2 separate regions of the Homo sapiens genome follow, and region 1 is linked to region 2. The links are contacts of gene promoters, found by promoter capture Hi-C in human tissues and cell types (Jung and others, 2019). All regions are on one chromosome and are shown on one strand. Each heading gives the region's core, a stretch centred on a gene start or on the middle of the fragment in contact. The rest is flanking DNA. Distances are from core to core; before and after follow the strand shown. Region 1 has its middle 14 kb from the start of DDAH1. Region 2 holds the start of DNASE2B (deoxyribonuclease 2 beta).

What was found. Contacts are between HindIII fragments. The study calls those that stand out against the background at their distance.
Region 1: a fragment that was not itself captured here is called in contact with the fragment with the promoter of DNASE2B in region 2 in 1 of the 25 tissues and cell types used here (pancreas).

The regions. Positions count from the first base shown.
Region 1 is chr1:85,476,048-85,482,689 of GRCh38, forward strand. It overlaps a transcript of DDAH1 not described here. Among named protein-coding and RNA genes, the nearest start is that of DDAH1, 14 kb to the left of the region's middle. The HindIII fragment of the contact is 4,355 bases long and covers 1-3,658 here.
Region 2 is chr1:84,396,712-84,403,237 of GRCh38, forward strand. It overlaps DNASE2B (deoxyribonuclease 2 beta), which reads left to right and starts at 1,773. Exons shown (of 6, transcript NM_021233.3): 1 at 1,773-1,978; 2 at 5,190-5,367. The coding sequence starts at 1,854. The HindIII fragment of the contact is 7,255 bases long and covers 1-4,492 here.

The DNA of each region.
Region 1 (6,642 bases), core at 231-2,730, 1.1 Mb after region 2:
AGACAGGTTTCGCCATATTGCCCAGGCTGGTCTCAAACTCGTGAACTCAAGTGATCTGTCTGCCTCAACCTCCCAAAGTGCTGGGATTACAGGCGTGAGCCACCATGTCCAGCCTCAAGATAGTTGTTACACGCTTCTTTATTTTGCCCTTCACCTACTTTCTCCTCTGAATTATCTTTCCTCAGCTCCTTCTTCTCATGCATTTACTTTTCTTACTCTTTGTTTCAGTTATTGTTGATGCACAAAAAACTACTCTGAAACCTAGTGGCTTTATAAAACAGTCATTTTGTTTGGACCATGATTTGTGGATTAGGAATTGGGGAAAAGCTTGTGTCTCTGATCCACATGGAGTCCACTGGGGCAGCTGAAGCTGGGAACCACTTTCCAGCTGACTTTCTCACGCACATCTCTAGTGCCTCAGTGTTGTTCAGCCTGACCCCCAGCTCACCCCCTCCACACAGGTCCCTTCTTCCAGAGCTTCTTCATGTGGCTCAGGATTCTCACAGAATAGTGGTCCCAGAATAGTCTCATTTCTTGGTGGTTGGCTTCCTACAGGTGAGAAGTGGAAGCTGCCGTGCTCTTTAGGGGCTATGCACATAGCTAGCATGGCATGATTTCTGCTATCCTGTACTGGTCAAAGCAGTCACAGGCCTGCCCATCAAAGGGAGGGGAACAGACACTTTCTCTTGATGGAAGCAGTGTGTATCATTAACCAGTCACACTCTTAGTATCAAGTTCTGTTATTCTTCCAAGATAGTATTTCAATAATATTTTCAGAAAAATTTCTTTCATTTTCTGAAGTTTTGCTAACTTTTTTCTGAATTAAAAACAGGGTCCATAATACACAACTAGCACTAGTCACTGACTAGTAGTAGGTGCTAATACTGTCTAGCAGAGAGACAGCTATGAATCAAACCATCACTAAATACTCACAAACTAAGTGCTGTAAAGGAAAAGGACTGGGTACCATGAGCATGTATAATAACGTAAATCCCATATGTCTGGGGGAATAAAGGAAGACTTCCCTGGAGAGGTGACTTCTGAGCTGAGAATTGAAAGATGAGTAGGTATTAATCAGGAGTGGAGAGAAATTACCAAACTGAGCCGAGCATATGAGCAAAGACACAAGGTGGGAGGGAATTTAGCATGTTGGAGGAAGGAAGAGAAAAATCTATGTGCTACAGCTGGAATGTCAGTGATATTGTTAACCTTGTTTTAAAGCTGAGGGTCAGCTCCTGGCTGAGAGCCCTGACACAGGTAAGGGCTCCATAAATACGTGCCTCCCCAATGACAGGGGGCCTGTCAATAATATGCATCCGCCCTCAGGCCTTTTCTACAGCCTTTACAACTAGAAGAGTGTCCCCTACAACCTCATGACATCTTACGTGAGAACCATGCAGATTCAGAGAAGTCACCATTGAAAACCACCCGAAGAAAACATTATCTACCGAAAATATAACACATCCTGGTGGTTATTATAGAGTGGAGTTAAAATGTAAATCAAGATTAACTCACACCAAGATTATCCTGCTCTTTAGAGATGATATATGACTCACACTACTGTCTCTGCTATACTATATATAGCAGAGATAGTATATGTATATGCATATACTATCTCTACTATATATAGAAATATATATAGTATATTATGATGTGAAATTTTGATGTGAAAGCTAGAAGAAAATGGTAATTTGTGTTCATACAGGTCACATATGTAGCTACGTACTAAATTTTTCAGGGAATTTATTTAAACATCTCAACCATCAAATTAGCATATGCATCAATAAAAAAATGCTGTACAAATTGTCTATAATTTATTGTACAGGAAATTTTATGCTTTTATTCCCTAGTATATGGGCTTCTATTCTCTATTCAGTTTTTGTTATTTTAATATATTAAACATAATTGCAAAAAATTAATGATCTATGCCATCTGCCAACTCAAAATCTCCTAATCTCAGTTTCTCCAACTTTCCTTCTAAAAAAAATTAGAAAAGCCTTTAAAGAAAGTATTTTTCAAAAATATAGGGAAAAAAGGGAAAGGAAATTGCCTTGGAAAGCAAATTTTTCTTCTGTGAGAATGCTGACAGATAAATCATTTTGGAGAGAAATGGGCAAGAATATTATATAGAAAAATCAGTTTCATTTTTATAGAAAACATGGGTTTCCACTAAAGACCATATCATAGGATACATCTTTAAAAAGAAAAGAGAAGTTTCCACTCTAACTTGCTTTTTGCCAAGAATGCTTTCTGACATCTTAATTAATTTTAGGAATTATCTGTATTAGTCTGCTCTCACGTTGCTAATGAAGATATACCTAAGACAGGGTAGTTTATACAGGAAAGAAGTTTAATAGACTCACAGTTCCACATGGCTGAGGAGGCCTCACAATCATGGCAGAAGGTGAAGGAGGAGCAAAGTTATATCTTACATGATGGCAGGCAAGAGAGCTTGTGCAGGGGAACTCCCATTTATGAAACCACCAGATCTCATGAGACTTATTCACTAACAGAATAGGAAAACCCACCCCCATGATTCAATAACTTCCCATTGGGTTCTTCTCACAACATGTGGGGATTATGGGAACTAAAATTCAAGATGATATTCGGGTGGGGACACAACCAAACCATATCATTATCCTTTCAGTTGTATCCTTCCTATTGTGACTTAATGTTTCTTGAATTTTATAATATTGTCTGCCTTATTGCAATAGTGTTCAGATCCTCATCAGAAGTGGTCATTGACGGGTAAGTTGGAGATCAGGGAATAGGTTTGGCATTGTCAGACAAGACTAATGAATATCAATTGATAAAGAATGGGTTGTTAATATTATGGGGGATAGTCTAAAGCATATTACATTACTGTATAATGCTGTATTCTATATAATTGTATATTACTTTACAATATTCTAGAAATATGGTGAAACTAATACATGCTTTAAAAGAAATTATATTTTTATTGCCTTTTGAAAGTTTACATTTAATTTTTATTTTACTTTATTTTGCGTTTTGCTTTTAAAAGATTATTGATTTGCTATAGCCCAAGAGGTAGTAGGTGAAAAGCTTAAAGTAGTTAATAATCTGAGATTATTTTTCCTCCCTTCTGTTTTTCTTTTTTTTTTTTTTTTTTTTTTTTTGAGACGGAGTCTTGCTCTGTCGCCCAGGCCGGACTGCGGACTGCAGTGGCGCGATCTCGGCTCACTGCAAGCTCCGCTTCCCGGGTTCACGCCATTCTCCTGCCTCAGCCTCCCGAGTAGCTGGGACTACAGGCGCCCGCCACCGCGCCCGGCTAATTTTTTGTATTTTTAGTAGAGACGGGGTTTCACCGTGTTAGCCAGGATGGTCTCGATCTCCTGACCTCATGATCCACCCGCCTCGGCCTCCCAAAGTGCTGGGATTACAGGCGTGAGCCACCGCGCCTGGCCCTGTTTTTCTTTTATAAAGACACCAGAAGGAAATTAAATGCTTAATTAAATTAAACAAATCAGGCACTAATATTACCACAATCGGGGTTTTCACCACTAATTGCTTATTGAGTATTACAACAGTGTTCACACAATCTGAAAGTAGAGTGGTTTTGGCCACATATCAAAATAGGCAGTGTTATAACAGTTCCAGATGTTATGGTAACAGGCACTCTGGAGGTGGGGTCAATGTGAGCATCATCAGAACACCAGACAATTAGATATTGCTAGTTCAGTTTGCTGGGCCTTGTCTTGATCCCTTTAGGGTGAAAATGGTGCTTCCAGCTTCCATCTGTTTGGCCCTGCTTGGGAAAGAGTCATGCTGGGCCAGGCTAATCACATGTTCTAGAAGAGGTCACAAAATTCTGATTTGGGAATTTTTGTAAACGACTATACCCATCTTACACATACTGAAATCTAAGAAGATAATATTTCCTTGTCACGTTTTTCTGAAGCAGACGTTCAATTAAATTCAAAGAGCACATGTCTGCTCTCATAGGAACAACTATGAGCAATTAAAAGAGAAACAGAACAAGTGACAAAACAGCTCCTTCTTCAGAAGAGTGGGAGAAGTAACCCACTGTGGATGGTTCAACACTTCTGTCAGTAGGTAAAACTGTGACAGAGTCAACATTCACCTTAGAAATTCTTCTATGTGCCCCTGCTCCACCCCACACACTGTTAGCAGTTCCCCATCCCTGGGTTGCCTCTCTGAGCACAGGCTTAAACTGCTCCCTTCCACACCAAAATATATGTGCTCTGGAGTTCATTTTGTCAGATTCCTCTTAAGCTTCTAATAAAACCTAATAAACCTATTCAGGATAGGATCTCAGATGAAAATAACTTTTCAATTCAATACTTTTATATTAAGTGACTAAGTGTGCTAGATACTGTGGCTAACGATCTGATTAAGAAATGGTTTCTCCATTCATCATTTTAAAAATCAGGAACAGGCAGGTGCGGTGGCTCACATCTATAATCCCAGCACTTTGGGAGGCTGAAGCTGGCGGATCACCTGAGGACAGGAGTTTGAGATCAGCCTGACCAACATGGTGAAACCCCATCTCTACTAAAAATACAAAAAGTAGCTGGGTGTGGTGGCAGGCACTTGTAATCCCAGCTACTCAGGGGACTAAGGGATGAGAATCACTTGAATTGGGGAGATGGAAGTTGAACGACCCAAGACTGTGCCACAGCACTCCAACCTGGGCGATAGAGCAAGACTCTGTCTCAAAAATAAATAAATAAATTAATTAATTAATAATTAAATTAAAATTTAAAATCAGAAACAATTGGAAAGCCCTATAATAAAAGAGTAGTTAAATAAATCAAGGTATATCCATACCTGTGGGATATGCTGTAGTCATTAAAAATAATGCTTTTGAAAATAATGTTTTAGTATGATCACAGTTTAATGACATATATAGGAGAAAATGCTTAATAAAATGTAACAGTAACTTTTGCTATCTTTAAGAAGTGGGATTATAGGTGATTTTTATTTTCTTTAAAATTTTATGTGTTTTCCAATTTTTCTTTAAGAAGCATATACTTCATAAAATAATAAAAATCATTTCTTTGGGTTTTTTGTTTTTTTTTTTTTTTTTGAGATGGAGTCTTGCTTTGTCGCCCAAGCTGGTGTGTAGTGGTGCAATCTCAGCTCACTGCAGCCTCTGCCTCCCAGGTTGAAGTGATTCTCCTGCCCCAGCCTCCCAAGTAGCTGAGATGACAGGTGTGTGCCACCACACCCAGCTACTTTTTGTATTTTTAGTACAGACAGGGTTTCACCATGTTGACCAGGCTGGTCTCGAACTCCTGGCCTCAGGTGATCCGCCTGCCTCAGCCTCCCACAGTGTTGGGACTACAGATGTGAGTCACCTACCCAGCCTAAAGACAATTTCTCTCTGTAAGAGTTATGTCTAGTCCAAATTAAAAGATTGAAAACAAATTATTAATACATTATAAGTGTTATAGTTACATACAAGATGTTATGAGAATAACTACCCATGTGAATGATATCACTTAATATTATACCACCACCAATGATTTCTCAAAAATCTTTTTTACACATTATAAACCAGCTAGTTTATTATTTTGTAGTAAGATATAGATCTTTTACCATGCAGACTGAAATACCTATGTCTTCATGAACAGTACTTTTCTTCCTAGAGGCAGTTACATGGAAAACCAGGTTATTATCAGGTTATTTAATGAGTGTGAAATCCCAACAAGAGGAGACTAACTTTAAGACCTATAACTCATCCATGAAGGCTGGGGGCACAGTTTCCCACCACGGGAACACCTTAGCCTCCAGAAAGCTTATTGACTCTTCTCTCCTCATCTTGGTCTGGCTGAGCACTGTCACTGGTCAGTCACTTCCTGCAGCCATACAGTCTGGCCAGCTTGGCCTAAGAGCTGTATCTCTGCTCACTGGTTTGTGTTGTCACTGCCACTGTTACTAACAGTTAAGGTTCTGAAGGGGGTACGTCAGTTGCTCCCATGTACCAACTAGGAGACACAATAATCCTGTTAGTTTGTCCTCCCAAACCCACTCAAGTTTATCAGGTAATATGCTTCGTAAGGTTCTTTCCAACCCTGTTAGCATGTGCATAGATTACCTATAAATTGACCTAATGTAACCTACTTCCTACTGAGGATTGAGGTTTTAAGGTTTTGTTTTCCCACTTTCTTGATCAGTGATTACCAACCATGTAGGAGTTAATGAAACCAATTCTGTATCACCACTGCAACCAAGACAGAGATACCAAGTGATATGTATTTTTCAAATCAATAGTATTTTATTCTCTATAATGTAAAAAACAAGTAGATGCAGTCCTCAACTTAGTACTCAATACTAGGAAGGGTCAATTTGTCAAAAAACGTCTTTCAACAGTAGAAAATGTTGCTTTCCAATTAAAAAACAAAACTGATATTGCAATCGTGTAATAATGATAAAATTACAGAAAAAAACATGTTCGGACTGAGCCACAGCATTCACACCACACCAGAATTTTGCCTGTAACGAAACAGTGAATTTTGTCTCAAAAAGTAGGTTAGGTTCATGCTGGCTAGAAACTTCCATCCCAGACCCAATAAATGAGGATGAAATACATAGTGCATGCTTAACAGACATTGCATATACATCAACCATTCTTTAATGCCCCTCACTAGGGTTTTGAGG
Region 2 (6,526 bases), core at 523-3,022:
TGTCACCCAGGCAAAAGTGCAGTGGTACCATCATGGCTCACTGCAGCCTCCACTTCCTGGGCTCAAGCAATCCTCCCACCTCAGCCTCCTGAACAGCTGGGACTACAGGCATGTGCCACTATGCCCGACTAATTTTTTTTTTATTGTTTGTAGAGATACATTCTTGCTATGTTGCCCCGGCTGGTCTTGAACTCCCAGGCTCAAGCAATCCTCCTGCCTTAGCCTCCCAAAGTTTTGGGATTACAGGCATAAGCCACTGCGTCCAGCTGATAATTTTTAAAAAAACTTTTAAAAATTGACAAAAAGGTTGGGGTTGTTGAAATCCTTTTTTCTGAACACAGGAAGAAAATATATAAAACAAAATGAGAACAGGCACAGTGGTTCATGCCTGTAATCCCAGCACTTTGGGAGGCCGAGGTGGATGGATTCCCAGGCCGAGGTGGGTACACTCCAGCCTGGGCAACAAGAGCAAAACTTCATCTCAAAATAATAATAATAATAATACCAATGGAGGAATGGGTAAGAAAAATATTTCTTCATTTAACCTGCAGAAAGCTGTGAATCTACCAAATACAGCATAGTCTTGGCCTCAGGGCAGTGAGTTTCAAACTTTAGGGTACACCAGCATCACCAATAAGCTTATTAAAAATATAGATTCTTGAGCCCAACTGGAAGAATTCTGATGTAGCAGGTTTGGAATAAGTCCTAGAATTCTGCCTTTTTTGCAGGCACCACAGGTAATTGGGCAGGTGGTACAGAGTCCTCCTCCCAAAACTCTGTCTTAGGATAGAGACACAAGCCTTCCCCTTTTCTATGAATCCTGAGAATTGTGAACAGTTCTAGTGCAACCACAGAGGTAATCTGATTTACAAGGGTTCAGTTTGGTCTGGATCCTCTGATCTGGAACTATTATAGTTATCATTGTGATTATCAGAGAGACAGATTAGGGGCAGCATTATTTCCAGGCATGATGTAAACTGCTATTTATTATGATGGCAGCTTTAATAATTGATGCAAAAGTATGCATTAAAGAAATTATTTTCATATGTCTATCTACTCCTTCCCTGATTCACAAAGAAATTGGTCTCACCTTTTTATAGTTGTTATGGTAGTGGGCCATTTTATTTTGGTTTTCTACTTCAGATTCAGCTTCGAGAATGAGAAAGCATAGTTTGGGCAAAATAGATGTTTGTAACATTTTTTATTAACCTGAAGAGTGGGTGATCAATATGTTTACCTATTGCATAGCAGCCTGAAGCACCACATTGAGTGGCTAAAACCAGGAAGATGGAGAGAATATGTAAACATCTTTGGTAAAATACAGTTAAATTTACTGTTACTTTGAAGCAACCCTTTGAAGTATCCCTTAGCAACTGGTTCCTTAAGACAGAGATTATTAAGTGACAGATCCTAATTATTACTAAGACATAAGGTTTTATCATTTCTGTTTAATGTACGAACCACCTGCATTTGCTCTCATTCATTGAGTCAAACAGGAGAAGACATGAAATATATTTAACATCTACTTATTAAAATGAAGTCCCCCTGCCCAATGAATTTCATACAACAATGTTCACTCCAAAGAGTGAACTATCTTTCCCTATTTTTCTGCAGAACTTTTTGATGACTTTGCAAACCAGTCAACAATTCAGCACAAAGGCATCCAGAGTCACGCTGGCATGTTGTGACAGAATCGCACAATTACATGGGATCCATCCCACTCTGAAAATGCCCCGAACAGCGAACAGCACAGGTAAATCAAATCAAACGTCAGAGCCAGCACAGCCTGAGAGCGCCTTGAAACTCAGACTCCACAATCTATGGGGAAAGTGTCCTGCTGTGGCATGAAATAAATGAAACAGAAAATGATGGCAAGACTGCTAAGAACATCCTTTGCTTTGCTCTTCCTTGGCCTCTTTGGGGTGCTGGGGGCAGCAACAATTTCATGCAGAAATGAAGAAGGGAAAGCTGTGGACTGGTAGGTAAATGAAATGGAAGGACTGCTGCATGCAAACAGCCTCGGTACAGAGTTGGCCTGGCTCACTGCGAAGTTCCTAAGGGGAATGTCCATTCTCTTTCCTCCCTTTACAAATAAAGGAAGTTAAAGTGTGCAAATCGGCCAAACTCCCAGGCAGGGGTAGGCTTCTGAGTGACGGAGTTTCCCCCTGAAAAAGAGCTGAGCAGCCCCTCTTGGGCCTGATTCACTGTTCTCAGCGGGGCAAGGCTGGTAGCCACAGAAGTGGGATTGAGCTGACAGCTTCTGTGAGCTGGCAATTTCTTTTAATTACATCATGGCTTTTCCTAACAGAACACTTCCAACATCCTTTGAAAGACTGACAGAGTAAAGAAGGCAGATTATTTTTTTCTGAAAATGGAGCATGTGCTGCTCCTTATGAGAAAGAGAAGGGGGACCTGGTCACACACAGCACTGTTTGCCTAACATCGGTTTGTTTGGAAGCAGAGGCAGCTGTTGCCATGATTGGTACGTAGGCCACTGGCCTGTTGTACAGTGTCAAAGACATTAAATGCTGTGTTGCATTATAGTCATGGGTTCTCCTAAAGCTTTAACTACTTTTTCACCCTTTAATTGGGATATTTAGGTTTGCCATAATGGTTGGTGTCAAGCTTTTTGTGTAAACTTCAGGCTACAGAACACAGATATACTCAAGGCAGTAGTCAGTCTTTCCTCAGTTACTGAGCTCAACAGAGGTCTGTGTGGAGTTTTGAAAATATAAATATGAACGAAACATGGTTCCTACCCTCAAGGACCTCACAGTTATGTGGTAAGGGCATAGGTGGAACACTGGGGAACAGAGAGCCCAGAAAACTTCTCTAAGGATGTAATTTTTGAGCTAAGTTTTAAGAACAATTAAGAAGTAGCTGGAAAAAGAAGGGATGTGCAAGAGCATCTCAGGCCAATGAAGGAGCAATGAGGAGGTAGAGAGGCAAGAAGCAACATGGAAATTTGGGAGTTGCAAAGTAGTTTGGTATTGCTGGAACTTCAGGAGAATACAGGAAGATGACCGGAGGTGAGGTTAGAGAGGTGGGGACAGCCAAGGGGTCTGTGTGCTGAGCTACAAGGTTTGAACTTGACATTGAAAGGGAGCTATTGGAGGACTTCACGCAGGGGTGTGAATGGTCAGATTTGCACTTTAGGAAACCCATTGGCAGTACTATGAGGGCTGGATGGATGGGGAGCAGCCTAGAATCACTGAGACCAGGAGCACTTTTGCAGCATTACAGGTGAGAAGAGGTGTAGACCTGAGTTAAAGAAGCGGTCATGGAAATAGAAAGAAGGACATGCTGAGAAGACTTGGTGATGGATGGGCTGCAGCCAGTAGGAGAAAGGGAGATGTTAAGAAATAATTTTAGGTTGGCCAGGCGTGGTGGCTCACGCCTGTAAGCCCAGCACTTTAGGAGGCCTAGGCAGACAGATCACCTGAGGTCAGGAGTTCAAGACCAGCCTGACCAACATGGAGAAACCCCATCTTTACTAAAAATACAAAATTAGCCAGGCATGGTGACGCATGCCTGTAATCCCAGCTACATGGGAGGCTGAGGCAGGAGAATTGCTTGAACCCAGGAGGCGGAGGTTGTGGTGAACCAAGATCGTGCCATTGCACTCCAGCCTGAATAACAAGAATGAGACTCCGTCTCAAAAAAAAACAAAAAACAAAACAAGAAAGAAAAAGAAAGAAATAATTTTAGGCTTCTGCTTCTGAGACTGCATGAATATGTTCCCTAATAGTGTGGGATGAGCAGATTTGGAGCAAAATATTATAAATTTGGTTTCAAAAATACGGAGTTGGGGGTTAATGGGACATCTTTGAGTTTAGGTTTCTCTGGACCTCAGCAGAAAGGTCTGGGCTAGAAACAGACTGAGGACTCTTGAGTACATAATTAGAGACAGTCACCCAGGAAAAATGTTTAAAAGTACTAGCTCTCAACTGGTGTGCCACGGCACACTGATAGTTCACAAACCCTTCACTGGTGGGCCACCAAATTGTGATTGATATGGAAAATCATTTTTGCCACAAGTGAATGGACATATTACTTAGCAATGTCTGTTAGAGAGAATATAAGCAACTTGTTGCCAAGCTGCTAACATTTATTGAGAAAGGTAAGGAAAGAGACCATCAAGTCAGCACCAAAGAATAATTTCATGTTTCCTGCCACATGTGAGGACCTGACCCTGTAAGAAAGCATAAGCAGGGCAGGAAAGAGTTCACTTAAATTAAGTATAAGACCGAAGGGGACCAAGTGAAGAGTGTGCAGCTTTTACGGGTTTGTGACACTGTTGTATGGTAATAGTGTATATATTATAATGTTTGGTGCACTGTGAGTGTTTAGGGGTTAATGGTGGGGTTCATGCTATTAGAAAGTATTTGGCTAGATCAGTGGTTCTCAACCGAGGGTAATTTTGCCCTCAGAGGATTTTTGATAATGTCTGGAGATAATTTTGATTGTCACAACTTGGCAGTGCTACTGGCATCTAATAGGTAGAGGGCAGGGATCTTACAATGCACAGGACAGCTCCCACAACAAAGAATGATCGGCTGAAAATGTGAATAGAGCACACTGAGAAACGCTGAGCTAGGTAATCCAATAATGCCTTAATGCTGTCTTGGCTGAGCTACCTCTCCTCCCTGTGAGATATCCAAGGGAGATATACAAATGGAAAACAACAGTAAAGGAAGGAAAGGGCCTACTTAATTACTTGGTTTTAGCCCTGAATCTTCAAGGCAGAGTATTCGGATAAACTGAGCTGAGGAATGCAGCTTATGACAGGGGCTCAAAGTACCTTCCACCTCTCCTGAAGCCCAAACCCAAATCTCATATCCAGTCAGCCAACTGCATGGTCTGGGCCTTGGCCTTCTCTCCACTGTAGCCACATGGATCATGGAAGCAACAGAAAGAGCCACTCTCAATGTATATGGACTTCCACTTCAGGGACTCCACCCACCAGTATAACCAAGGTCTTAGAACATATCCAATCAGATTTTTATTTTCTTCTCTGGGGAGGAGCAAAGATAAGAGTGAAGAAAGAGGCAAAGAGCTTGAGCAAATCCCTTTCCTTAGAGGCCTTCCATGAAACAGAAATGAGAGATATATTAAAGTGTGTAATACAGTTACTGCCACAGGAAAACAGTCAATAAATGTTAGTAATTCATAATCATTTTGTCTGTTAGGTTTACTTTTTATAAGTTACCTAAAAGACAAAACAAGGAAAGTGGAGAGACTGGGTTAGAGTACCTGTACCTAGACTCTACAACTAGAAGCTGGAGGAAGAGTGAGCAACTAATGAATGACACCAAGAGTGTTTTGGGAAGGACATTACAACAGCTATATGAAGCATATGCCTCTAAGGTATGTTATATAGTTAATTGTTCACTTGAATAATATAAAATGCATAAAACTGAATCCAAAGCCTTCACCAGAGTTTTCTGTTCACCCACCCAACCCCCAATCCTAGCACCTTGAAGTGAGCTAGCTCAGGACCAGCTCAAGACAACTATCTGAGTCAATCTGACTAAGACCTGAGGAAACATGTCATCATACTCTACAGCAATGCCAAATTTACTTGGCACCATGTCCAGTGGTGTCACTAGGCAAGGTGTGAATTAATTGTATATTGAAGTCTTCTGGCTGCCAAAATGTCTGTCAGTTTGCTTATTCATCTAATAGAAATAGGGAGAGGAGCCTCTGCTGTTACAGGGCAATACAGAACTGTGATTAACATGCTATGAGTTATGGATTGTTTATATCATGGTGTTGATCAGTGGTGGTGAGCTCAGTAAAGGGTTCTACTTGATCTTCCTTTTCATTAATTGTTTTCAAAATGATATGTTGAAAACTAGGACTCTAGTTCAAGGCCCTAGAACTAACTTGTCTGGATGGAGATTATCCCTGCTATATCTGGACTTTATCAGGCAATGAGCTAATCAGCCAAAGAGACACAGGTAAGTAGGCCTGCTGGCTTATTATGGGCATGCTCCCAATATTCTAGGCATCATCTGTTGCTTAGTTTCAAGATACTGCTTTCCAACCAGGAGTGGCAAGTAAAATCAAGCCATGATTAACATCCAATTATACTCATGTATGCATTTCCTAACAATAACTTATAGACAAGTAAATATATAACATGACTCTGCTCCTATAATATGCTGGACTGTATGCTGGGCCTTTACATATGTCAAGTAATTTAATGCCCACAACAATCCTGTTTTAGCCTCTGGCACTGCACATGTGTATCTGAGTATTTACTCAAAATACACACGGAACTGTCATGGTGTGTGGTAATATTCATGTTATTTACCTGCCATTAAGACTAGCCTTCAGAGCCAAGCTACAAAGTTAAAGCTTATCTGTAGGCTATTTGAGAACATGTGATGTGCCAAGCACTTTTCTAGATGCTTTTCAAAATTATTTGTCTCAACAAACCTGCTTTGAATAAACAGACGACAGCTGACCCTTGAACCATGCTGGGGTAGGGGTGCCGGCCCTCATGCCGTCAAAAATTTATGTA